Regions from separate parts of the Homo sapiens genome. Here region 2 is linked to region 1. Evidence: promoter capture Hi-C in human tissues and cell types (Jung and others, 2019). All regions are on one chromosome and are shown on one strand. The core of a region is centred on a gene start or on the middle of the fragment in contact, and the rest is flanking DNA. Distances in the headings are between cores, read along the strand shown. Region 1 holds the start of ATP8B1 (ATPase phospholipid transporting 8B1). Region 2 has its middle 37 kb from the start of SEC11C.

The links. Contacts are between HindIII fragments. The study calls those that stand out against the background at their distance.
Region 2: a fragment that was not itself captured here is called in contact with the fragment with the promoter of ATP8B1 in region 1 in 1 of the 25 tissues and cell types used here (mesenchymal stem cells).

Annotation. Positions count from the first base shown.
Region 1 is chr18:57,801,549-57,807,260 of GRCh38, reverse strand. It overlaps ATP8B1 (ATPase phospholipid transporting 8B1), which reads left to right and starts at 3,946. Exons shown (of 28, transcript NM_001374385.1): 1 at 3,946-4,263. RefSeq lists an enhancer at 3,689-4,326. The HindIII fragment of the contact is 14,543 bases long and covers 1-5,712 here.
Region 2 is chr18:59,099,969-59,105,546 of GRCh38, reverse strand. No RefSeq gene overlaps it. Among named protein-coding and RNA genes, the nearest start is that of SEC11C, 37 kb to the left of the region's middle. The HindIII fragment of the contact is 4,499 bases long and covers 189-4,687 here.

The DNA of each region.
Region 1 (5,712 bases), core at 2,697-5,196:
TTACATTTCGTGATTTCCCCCAGCAGCTCGTTGGTTACTAAATGAGAGTGACTTCTAAATAAAACCAGAGTGTTTATTCAATCCCATCTGAGAATGCTGAGAAAGGGCTGCCAAGGCTGGTGGAATCAGGGCTCTGCCAGGACAAAGAAGTCATCTCTCAGTGACTCATGTAAGATGCATTTTAAAATTGTTGCATGTGAGACACTTCCAGTGATTGCCCTGACAAGGCACCCCAAAATTTGGCATGGTTCTTTCAGAAAGGACAAGGTCGGTTTCCAGGTGAGCTAATTCCTTCATCAGCAACACCAGCTGATGCACTCTGAGAACCTCCTTCCTAAGATGAGGAAGACTTACATAGGGGAAGTGTTCTAGGATAAGGTTGTGGAGTTGTGTGGGTGTGGGTGTTTTGTTTTGGTTTTGTTTTTTTTTTTAATTTTTTTTTTGGAGACAGTGTCTTGCCCTGTCACCCAGGCTTGAGTGCAGTGGTGCAATCACAGCTCACTGCAGCCTTCACTTCCTGGGCTCAAAGGATCCTCCCACCCCAGCCTCCTGAGTAGCTGGGACTACAGGTGCGGGCCACCACACCCAGCTAATTTTATTTTGTATTTTTTGTAGAGATGGGATTTCACCATGTTTCCCAGGCTGGTCTCGAACTCCTAGGCTCGAGCAATCCACTGGCCTCAGCCTCGCAAAGTGCTGGGATTATAGGCGTGAGGCACTGCGCCTAGGATAAGGTTTTAACATGCCTCCATCTGGTGGGTTCCATGCAAAATGGGTTTTCAAAGGATTTGTCTCATCAAAGATGAAACTCTACCTTCTTGCAAGTCATTTTTCAAATGCAGCTTTTCAAGAAGCCTACCCTGACCACATTATTTAAAATTGTGACTCATCCTCCAAATCCTAATCTCTTAATCCTGCTCAATTATTATTAGTAGTAGTATTATTATTCGCTCTGTTGCCCAGGCTGGAGTGCAGTGGGGCAATCTCAGCTCACTGCAACCTCTGCCTTCAGGGTTCAAGCAATTATCTGCCTCAGCCTCCTCAGTAGCTGGGATTACAGATGCCCACCATCACGCCTGGCTAATTTTTTGTATTTTTAGTAGAGACAGGGTTTCACCATCTTGGCCATGCTGATCTTGAACTCCTGACCTCATGATCCACCTGCCTTGATCTCCCAAAGTGCTGGGATTACAGGTGTGAGCCATCGTGCCTGGTCTATTATTTTTTAATGTATAAATCTTAAGCATACAGGTCAATGAATTCTTGCATATGCGTCTACTCGTATAATTATCATTCAGATCAAGAAATATAACTTTTACAGCACTCCAAAAGGCAGCTCCTTCAGGGGCCTTCTCCCAGTCCAGCCTGTTCTATTTTTTCAAAGCATTTGCCACCTTTTAAGATACTTGCCGAGTGCAGTGGCTCACGCCTATAATCCCAGCACTTTGGGAGGCTGAGGTGGGTGGATCATGAGGTCACGAGTTCACGACCAGCCTGACCAACATGGTGAAACCTGTCTCTACTAAAAATACAAAAATTAGCCTGGCCTGGTGGCTGTGCCTGTAACCCCAGCTACTCGGGAGGCTGCGGCAGGAGAATTGCTGGAACCCAGGAGGTGGAGGTTGCAGTGAGCCGAGATCACACCACTGCACTCCAGCCTGTGCAACAGAGCGAGCCTCTGTCTAAAAAAAAAAAAAAAAAAAGATATTTGATTGGCTCATAGATGTACCCAAGCAACTAGAAAACTGCCTGACACACAGTAGGCACTCACACTCAAATCTTTGTTGAATGAAAGAATATTATTTTATTTTGAGACAGAGCCTCGCTCTGTTGCCCAGGCTGAAGCGCAGTGGCACAGTCTCGGCTCACTGCCTGCCACCTCAGTCTCCCAGGTTCAATTGATTCTCCTGCTTCAGCCTCTTGAGTAGCTGGGACCACAGGCGCCCGCCACCATGCTTGGCTAATTTTTGTATTTTTAGTACAGGTGGTGGCTCATGACTGTAATCCCAGCACCTTGGGGGGCTGAGGCAGGTGGACCGCTTGAACTGGGGAGTTCAAGACAAGCCTGGGCAACATAGTGAAACCCAACCCTGTCTCTATAAATAAATAAACAAGTAAATAAATGCAGACATCAGAATGGTATTGATCAGATCTAGGTACAGGTGTAGATTGGATGCGTCCTTGTTTAGTCTCTTCTATGTAACATTTTCTTGGACAGGTTGAGCACTTGGTAGTGGATCTGCAAGGAGGGGGTGCCCCCTTTAGTCTGGAATCCCCTCTTGATTCCTAGGTTTGCTGGCATTTATCCAGATAGGGGCAGAGTCTTCCTAAACGGCTTCCCTCCTTTGGAGTCTGCTGCTCCTTGCATGCCATAACCCAGTCTTGAGAACCTGGCTCACCTTCCATTGCTCCCCTCTCCCAGTCAGTTGCAGGTTGTGGCCACTTCGTGCCCTATCTCTCTTCTGTGGTGTCCCTTGAATTTCCTCCTTTTTACTTCCCCTGGCAACTCCTCCGTATGTCGCTGTCCCAGCCTCTCAAGTGATTCTCCCATCTTCAGTTTTATCCTCTCTAGACTATCTCCCTATTATTTTCCCTAAAACACAACCTTGATCATGCTCATGCTCGGTCCTAAATTGTCAACGGTTTGCAGGTGCTACCAAAAACAAGTCTAAATGTCTTAGATCAACCAGTGTCACCAACAGGCCCTATGTTCTCTTGCATCGGTACCTTTGTTCTGTCGTTAGCTTCAGAATATAAGTGCTGGAAGAGACCATCTGGTCCAATCTCATTTTACAAATGAGGAAACTGAGGCCTGGATAGATTGAGTGACTGACCAGCACCTAGTCAGAGATCAAGTTTGACTCATGAAAAAGAAGCCTAGAGCAGCCTCGGGGTTGGTATCAGACAAGATTCTACCAGTTGGCCACCCGTTGAATACCCTCTCTACACAACTCTGATCCTTAAAGCTGTGGATCTTTGAGTCCCATCAAGCACGGCCTCCTGTAGGAAGCCTCTGTGATGACCCAGTTGGGAGTCTGGACTCTTGGGCATAGATGTGAGCCTCTAGGTGACTGGGAATCGTGTGGGAGTCCTGGCTCCCCTACTGCATTTTAAGCAAACTCTGATCTTTGATTTTCCTCCATTCTTATCCCAACGACTCGGTCCATAGTCGGGGAGCGGCAAAAGTCTACTCAAGAAGGAGGGTAATGTCTATACTGCCAGGGAGGCACGATTCACCCGCTCAGACACCAGCCAGCAACGAGGCGCTGAGTCCAAAATTTCCACCTACACCGCGTGGTTCACGGGCCGCACCTTAACTCCTTTTGACTCCAAACCCAAAAAAACTCGATAGCGTTTGGACTCGGCAGAAAGCCTGCTGGCTGCAATCACAGGATACGTTTCTGGAAGTCTTGAGGCGCAGCCTCTTTCTTCACCCTCCACGCGGCGAACTTTGACGCGCATTCGGTGACCGGTCCCCAAACATGACTTGGCATCAAGAGGACACAGCTCCCCTTACCGAGGGAGCTCAGGTCCCGGGCGCGCCGCGGCCCCGCCAGCTTTCCAGGCTGGCTCAGTCCTCGACCCGGGGTGACGGCCAAGCCAGCCAAGGGCAGCGGGAAAGTGACGCTGGGCTGGAGAGGTGTGGTGGCGAGTGCGGCCCCCGGGGAGCTAAGAGCAGCCGCAGCAACTGGGTCTCAGGCTGGGCGAGGCAAGGGCTCGTAGGCTGGGCTCGGAAGACTGAAAGGGGTGCCCACCTGACTCCAGGACGCACGGAGGGCGTGGGGCAGGAGCTGGACCTGGGCCGCCTCGGGCCGCCCCGGGGCTTGCAGTCCAGCCCCTCTCCGCCCTAGGGAGGGAAAAAGGGAGGGGAGAAGGCCGAGCCCGCCTCCAGCCCCAGCCCCAGCCCCAGCGAGGCTCGGCGGCCGCGGCTGCTGGAGGGAAACCAGAGGCACCTCCCCGAGCGGAGAAACCAGTTTGGCCGGTCCGGCGGAGCGGAGGCAAAAGGGCGGCTGCAGAGGAAGGGTGCACGGACGCGGGGCGGGGAAAGGCGGGGGAGCCACTAGCGAGCCGCGAGAGCCGGAGGTGCCGCCGCCAACTAGACACGCTTCCCCGGGCCCCCGGCCAGCCCCCGTGCGCCATGCAGCGCTAGCGCGGCGGCCAGGGCTGGGGCCGGGCGGGCGGCGGCAGCGGCCAGGTGCGCAGCGAGCGCTCCGAGCGGCGCGCACCAGGCGGATGCCCCAGCCGGGGCCCAGCGAACGCCAGGTAAGCAGGGGTGCGGCGCCGGGGGCCCCCAGACCTTCCCAAGCCCCTTGGCCCGGCGGTGTCCTGCAGGTTCCCTGGCCGCTCCCGCCGCACTTTGGAGATCCGGGATGCGGCGGCAGCAGCTGTCAGCGCCCTCGGACTCCCGAGCCCGCACAGGTGGGATTTGGGTGGAGGTGCTGGGAGCCCCCGAGGCCTCGGGGACGGCGAGACACGGCCGGCTGGGCAGGCAGCGCTGCGGAGAGTTCCGTGGGGTTTTCACCTGCCTAGAGGAGGGAAATCTCGGGGTGTTTGGGTTCTTCGATCGGTAGCGACACACATGTCCGGGGGTTAAGCCAGGTAGGGCTTGCGGCTCCTTGGGGGATGCCGCTGGCTCCTGTGCGGTGGCTACCGCCCCTCTGGAAGACCCCGGTGACCGGGTCCTGCTGGGGCGCTCTTTGGGAGCAGATGCCAACGTGTCCGAAAAGGACTTGCGGGCCAAACGTATCTGACCGCGGCCCACCTGCCGGGAGGGATGGAGGGGGTGAGATCGCTCTCCTCCCCAGCTCCTGTGGCAGGGCCAGGTACTCCCAGACATCTTCCGTGCGCTTTATTGTGGGATGGGGAGGGGAGGTGATGGGGAAGACCGACACCACTGTTTTTCCGGTGACTGTCGGGTCGCGTCCGCCAGCCCCGCTGAGATGGCTGCAGGCATCTCCTTCCCTCAGCAGTTTGGTGCCCTGCGCTGTCACCTCGCTGTGTGCACGAGGAGGGGCAACTTGTTGGGGGGCGCGGGGAGATGTTGCAGAGAATGGCCCAGTGCTTTAACACCCCTCGCCCCCACTTCTCCAACTCCCTCCTTCTCCCCAAAGTGAAAGAAAAGTTCTGAAGTGTCTGCCCAACTTTTCCGACGGAGGCGTGTGCCTGTGGTCCCTGCCGGGGGTTGGTGGCTGGTTGCGGGGGGGGGCGGTGCTCGGAGCGCAGATCCGTGACGGTTGTACGGGGGAGACTGGATTGCAGTAAGGATGCAAATTGGGGAAGGGGGATTGACACGCAGAAGTAAGGAGGACTTGGGCCGCGCTTCTGCCCGGTGAGTACCCGCTCAACCCTACCCGACCCCCTTGGCCTGCACGCGCTGCCCTTGGGGGCTGCAAGCTCTTCCTGGGTAGCTCCAGACGCCGCCGAGTTCCTCTCCCGGAAACTGGCCTCCCTGTTGGCGTGAGAAAATATTCGCTCCCATCTTCCTGGTTGCATTGCCTTCAAAATTTTGCCACTACCCATGGGAAACTAAAAAAAGAAAAAACTAGTGGGATGTTTGGAGATCACCCGGCACACGGTAGGTTATCGATGAAGGTTAACTGCTTTCAGGAACAAAAGCTAAAAAAAACCACGCGTGATAAAGCCTCCAGGGATAGTGAATACGAGCCCGTATATATGGGGGACACGACAGCAAATGTGAAGTAGAAGCGCTAA
Region 2 (5,578 bases), core at 1,189-3,688, 1.3 Mb before region 1:
AAAATAGACTTTAAGCTAAAAGGCATCATTAGAGATAAAGAAAGTCACTACATATAACGGAAAGACTCAATTCACCATGAAGAAATAATAGATCTAAATACGTGGGCACCTAATAAAAAAGTTTCACATTCAAACAATGCAAAATGACAGAACTAAAAGGAAAAATAAAAAAATTCATCATCATACTGGGAGATTTTAACACTCTTTCAAAAAACGGATCAATTGGCCTGGCGTGGTGGCTCCCACCTGTAATCCCAGTACTTTGGAAGGTCAGCGTGAGAGAATCACTTGAGCCTGGGAGGTCGAGGCTGCAGCGAGCCATGACTACGCTACTGCGTTCAAGCCTGGGCAACAGAGCAAGAGCCTGTCGTAAAAAACAAAACAAAACAAAAAACTCATCAATCAAGCAGCCAGCACTATCAAAATGACTAGAAAAATAAAATCTACAATCTTAATCTAATGGAGATATGTGGAATAGTATACCTAATGAGTGAAGAACACGCACATTTTCAAGCATATGTGAAACTTTTAGAAAAACTGGTTGTATCCACGGTTATAAAATAAGTGTCAAAAGTTTTCAACATAGTAATATCATACAGATCACATTCTTTGGCTATAATATTATGGGGTTATAGATAACTAATAAAAACACAATTCTGAGACAGGTACATGGAAAATTAAAGCTATGTTTTAATTTAAAATAGAAAATAATTTAAAATAGAAAACAATAAAAATAGAAAATAATTTAAAAATTGTTACAATAACGTATGTTATATCTAAAAATAAATCTAATACATAATATTTATTATCTTTATGCCATAAATTAGAAACTTTTCTTTAAACACTTTAAAGAAGACCTAAATAAATGGAAATATATGCCAAAGTTATGGATAGAACACTCCCTCTTGAAAAGATATCTGTTCTCTTTAAATTTGTCTGTTTGCTGTATGGAATTCAAGTCAAAATCCCAACAGGTTTGACTCCTAAAATTTATATGGAAGAATAAAAGATCAAGAATAGCTAAGACACTTCTGAAGAAGAATCAGGTGAAATAATCTACAATGCAGTAGAAATTAAGATAGTGTGGTAGTACCAGCGGGGAAAACAAGTAGACAAACAGAATAGAATAAAGGTGCAAAAAAGACTCACACAAATATGGGAACCAAACATAGCTGGTACCCACTCTCAGCGGAAATCAATGGATTGTTTAACAAATGATTAAAGCTGTGCTAGTTTATTTTTCATATGAAAAGTAAAAAAAAAAAAAAAAGAAAAAGGAGGCCAGGCATGGTGGCTCACAACTGTAATCCCAGCACTTTGGGAGGCTGAGGGGGCCGGATCACTTGAGGTCAGGAGTTCGAGACCAGCCTGGCCAACATGGCTAAACCTTGTCTCTACTAAAAATACAAAAATTAGCTGGGCATGGTGGTGCACGCCTGTAATCCTAGCTACTGGGGAGGCTGAGGCATGAGAATCACTTGAACCCAGGAGGCAGAGGTTGCAGTGAGCTGAGATCACACCACTGCACTCCAGCCTGGGTGACAGAGTGAGACTCCATCTCAAAAAAAAAAAAAAAAAAAGAAGGGAAGATCGCTTGAGTCCAGGAGTTCGAGACTAGCCTGGGGAAAAGAGCAAGACACCTGTCTCTTCAAAAACTAAAAAATTAGCTGGGCGTGGTGGTGTGTGCCTGTAGTGCCAGCTACTGGGGAGGCTGAGGCAGAAGGATTTTCTGAGCATAGGTGATCAAGACTGCAGTGAGCTGTGATTGTACCACTGCACTCAGCCTGGGTGACAGAGTGAGACCCTTTCTAAGAAAATAAATAAATAAACAGAATATTGAAAATTTTAATTACATTAATATTAAGAACTTTTTCAAATCAAAAGATACCATTAAAAGAGAGAGATAAAACATACCATGAATTGAGAGAAGATACTTAGAATACGTAAATCAAGAACTAGTTTCCAGAATATAAAAGAAATCCTATAATTCTCTAAAAAAAAGGCTTTAACAAAAGGCATTTCACATAAATAACATGGATGCATAATAAACATATAAAACATTTTTTAACCTCATTAGTAACTAGGGAGGGAATACAACCAAAACCCATAATGAGATTTCATACTGCCCAGATTGAACCAAATTTAAAAGTCTGACAAGAAGGGTTAAAGATTCAGGGCAACAAAAGCTCTCAGTCTCTGCTGGTGAGAGAGTAAATTGGTAGGACCACTGTGGAAGAAGATGAGCATTATTAAGTACAATTGAAGATGCGCAAACCTGTGAAGCATCAATCTGCCCCTAGGTATGTATTCTAGAGAAACTCTCACACACCCACATCTGGAGACACACACAGAATGTTTATAGTAGCATTATTCCACTAACAAAACTGCAAACAACCAAAATGCTCATCCACAGTAAAATGGATAAATTATGATGCATTCAAGCAATGAAATATTAAATATAAAAAATATTTTATTCCCACATGTATCAACATGGATATACCTCAAAAGCATTATATTAGATCAAAAGCAAGTAGCAGTATGATTAAGTTTATGTAAGTTTAAAACACAGGCAAATCTAAATAAGCAAAAGCTTAGGGATACATGCATTTGTGGTAAAACTCTGAAGTGAATGAAAATGAGTAATAGTGGCTGGGCGCAGTTGCTCACGCCTGCAATCCCAGCACTTTGGGAGACTGAGGCAGGTGGATCACTTGAGGTCAGGAGTTCGAGACCAGCCTGGCCAATGTGGTGAAATCCCATCTCTACTAAAAGTACAAAAAATAGCCAAGTGTGGTGGCAGGCACCCATAATACCAGTTACTCAGTAGGCTGAAGCAGAAGAATCACCTCAACCCAGGAGGCGGAGGTTGCAGTGAGCCAAGATCATGCTTCAGCCTGGGTGACAGAGCGAGACTGTCAAGAAAGAAAGAAAGAAAGAGAGAACGAACGAAAGAAAGAAAGAAAGAAAGAAAGAAAGAAAGAAAGAAAGAAAGAAAGAAAGAAAGAGAGAGAGAGAGAGAGAGAGAGAGGAAGGAAGGAAGGAAGGAAGGAGGGAGGGAGGGAGGGAGGGAGGGAAGGAAGGAAGGAAGGAAGGAAGGAAGGAAGGAAGGAAGGAAGGAAGGAAGGAAGGAAGGGAAAAACAAAAAGAAAAGAAAAGAAGTAATAGACAATTGAGATTCAGGACAGTGATTACCTCTGAAGAAAGTGAACAGAGAATGATTGGAGTGGGGCTCCCAGGGAGATCCAAGGGGCTTGGAAATGTTTTATTTCTTAAAATGGGTGGCAGGTCCATGGTTATTTATTTTTCTTTGAGCTATAAAAGTACATTATACACCCTCTTGTAAGCATGACAAATTTCACATGCACACAAATCCATTTTAAGGTCAATCAGTATGGAAATAAGCAACATGGCTCAGAGTGAGGGAGCGTAAGAGTTTCCTGGATGCCCTGTTACTTCCCTTGGAGAAACACTTGCTGTGCACCTGCCACATGCTAGGAACGGTGCAGCTGAGCAGACTCCCTCCTGGCTCCTTCGTCCCTCCTCGCCCTCTTGGGGATGGGAGAAAAAAGCCACTTGTGCTCAGAGTTCCTACATCCTCTGTCTACATTACTCTGGAGATGGTCACACAGGCTTGCTTTGCCCTTTGTGATTCTTTTCTCTCCCTCACCACTCTGAAATTGCTTCTGAGGGTTGGATCTATGTTTTATACTATCCTTTATTTCTTCAGTGACCGGAATGCATACGTGGATACACAAATATTTAACTTCACACACACTTTCCTGTCTTTTTTTCCCTAAACCTAGATAGGAATGTGATTTCAGAAAGAAAGGAGTTAGGAGTGCAGTTTTGTGGATTATTGATTATGTTTTGTTACTGTTAATGATAATAGTAGAAGTTCAGTGGTTGAGCAATCCTCCTGAGCACAGGGGACCTTCAGGTTACTCAAGGGAGCCCTGATGGGGGAGTGTGCTGGCCACAAGCCTTAGCCCTGGGCAGGCATCGGGCAGAACAACCGCCTGCCTGGGGTGAATCCCCGCCACCACCCCTACTAGCACCAATAGAACCTAGATGTCTTTCTACCTGCCCCATGCAGCAAATAAGATAAGGGAAAGTCTGTGTGGGTCTCCTTGCAGCATCCCTTGTTTTTAGAGAAACCCTTGGGAAGAGTAGGTCTCTCTTCTTGTTCTGGGTGTTGTCATGCCAGGAGGTGATTCTGGAATCGTTGTAGCCATCTCATGCCCAATCGGAGATTGAAGCTAATACCGAAGGCCAAATCTCAGTGGCTTACAACACAAGGGGTTTATTGCTCGCTCATGCTGTATATCCAACATGGATGGGCTTTGCCTGGGTCTCTGTTCTGAGGCCAGTCTATGGAGACAGCTCTTGTAGGGGACCTGCTCATCTTAGCAGAGGAAAAGAGACATGAAACCTTTAAATATGACACTTAAAGCTTCTGTTTGAAATGGATCTTGTCTCTTACACATTTCACTAGCCCAAATAAATCACATGGCCAAGCTTGAGTGAACAAAGGGGGTGGCATAATCCTAACACAGGGGGGCTGTAAATATTTGGGGACAATTATACAATCTACCAAGGACGGCAAGAACCTAAGAATCTGGGTCCTCGTGACATCACTGAGTCATACTTTATAACTGTCTAGTTTGCCATGTCTGTGGACCTACCCGTTACGTGAGATTTTTTAAAGTTGCCTTTCTCACTCTTCATTGTTTAGACTGCAGAGGTTGGAGTGGCCTCTTCCGAGAACAATGGTATTTCCACACTTTTGTCCTTTAGCCTAGGATGCTCAAGTTCTCTGATGCTTTGACCCAACAAATAAATATCCCATAGTGACCCTTAAGCTTTATAAGCAACCTCAAGGAGGTCCAGGAAAGTTTTGGGGAGCCGGGCCAGTTAGCAGAATTTCCAGGCTCACAATTCAAACAATTTTCTGCATCTTTATCCTAGAAAATCATAAAGGTATATGATAGTTTTCATTTAGCCGGCAAACAATTCCTTTTGAAGCACTCCCACCCACTCTCTTCCAGGCCAAGCTCCTGTGTCCTTCAATGTGTGCTTTAGGCTGATTCTTATTAATGGCTGTTCTTTCATTGTCATCTCCATAGAAAGCCTTCCTGGACTCCGCCAAGATGGTCAGTTGCAAATGACAGAAAAACAACCTAACTTCAACACACTTAAGAAACAGGGAGCTTTTTTAGCAGGCCCCTGAGATACCACCCGGAATTGAAGGACGTGTGTCCCCAGGACATTGGCTAGGGGAGGGATGGGGCTGGGCCTCAGAAAAAAACTGCCTCCAGGGAATGATAAGCCATTGATTCTCCTCCCCTCCCCTCACCTCCCCTAACCTCCCCTCTCCTCTCCTCTCCTCTTCCTTCCCTCTCAGGACAGACCGGCTACTTCCACATGGCACAGATCTGTCTGCTGTGAGCTCTCAAGTTTTATGTTTTCCGACTCCACCACCAGGAAGAGAGAGGGGCCCTGTTTCTAGTTCAAGTTCTACCTTGCCAGGGAAAGCTCTGATAGGCCTGGCTTGGGTCAGATGCTCACCCCTAGTCCATCA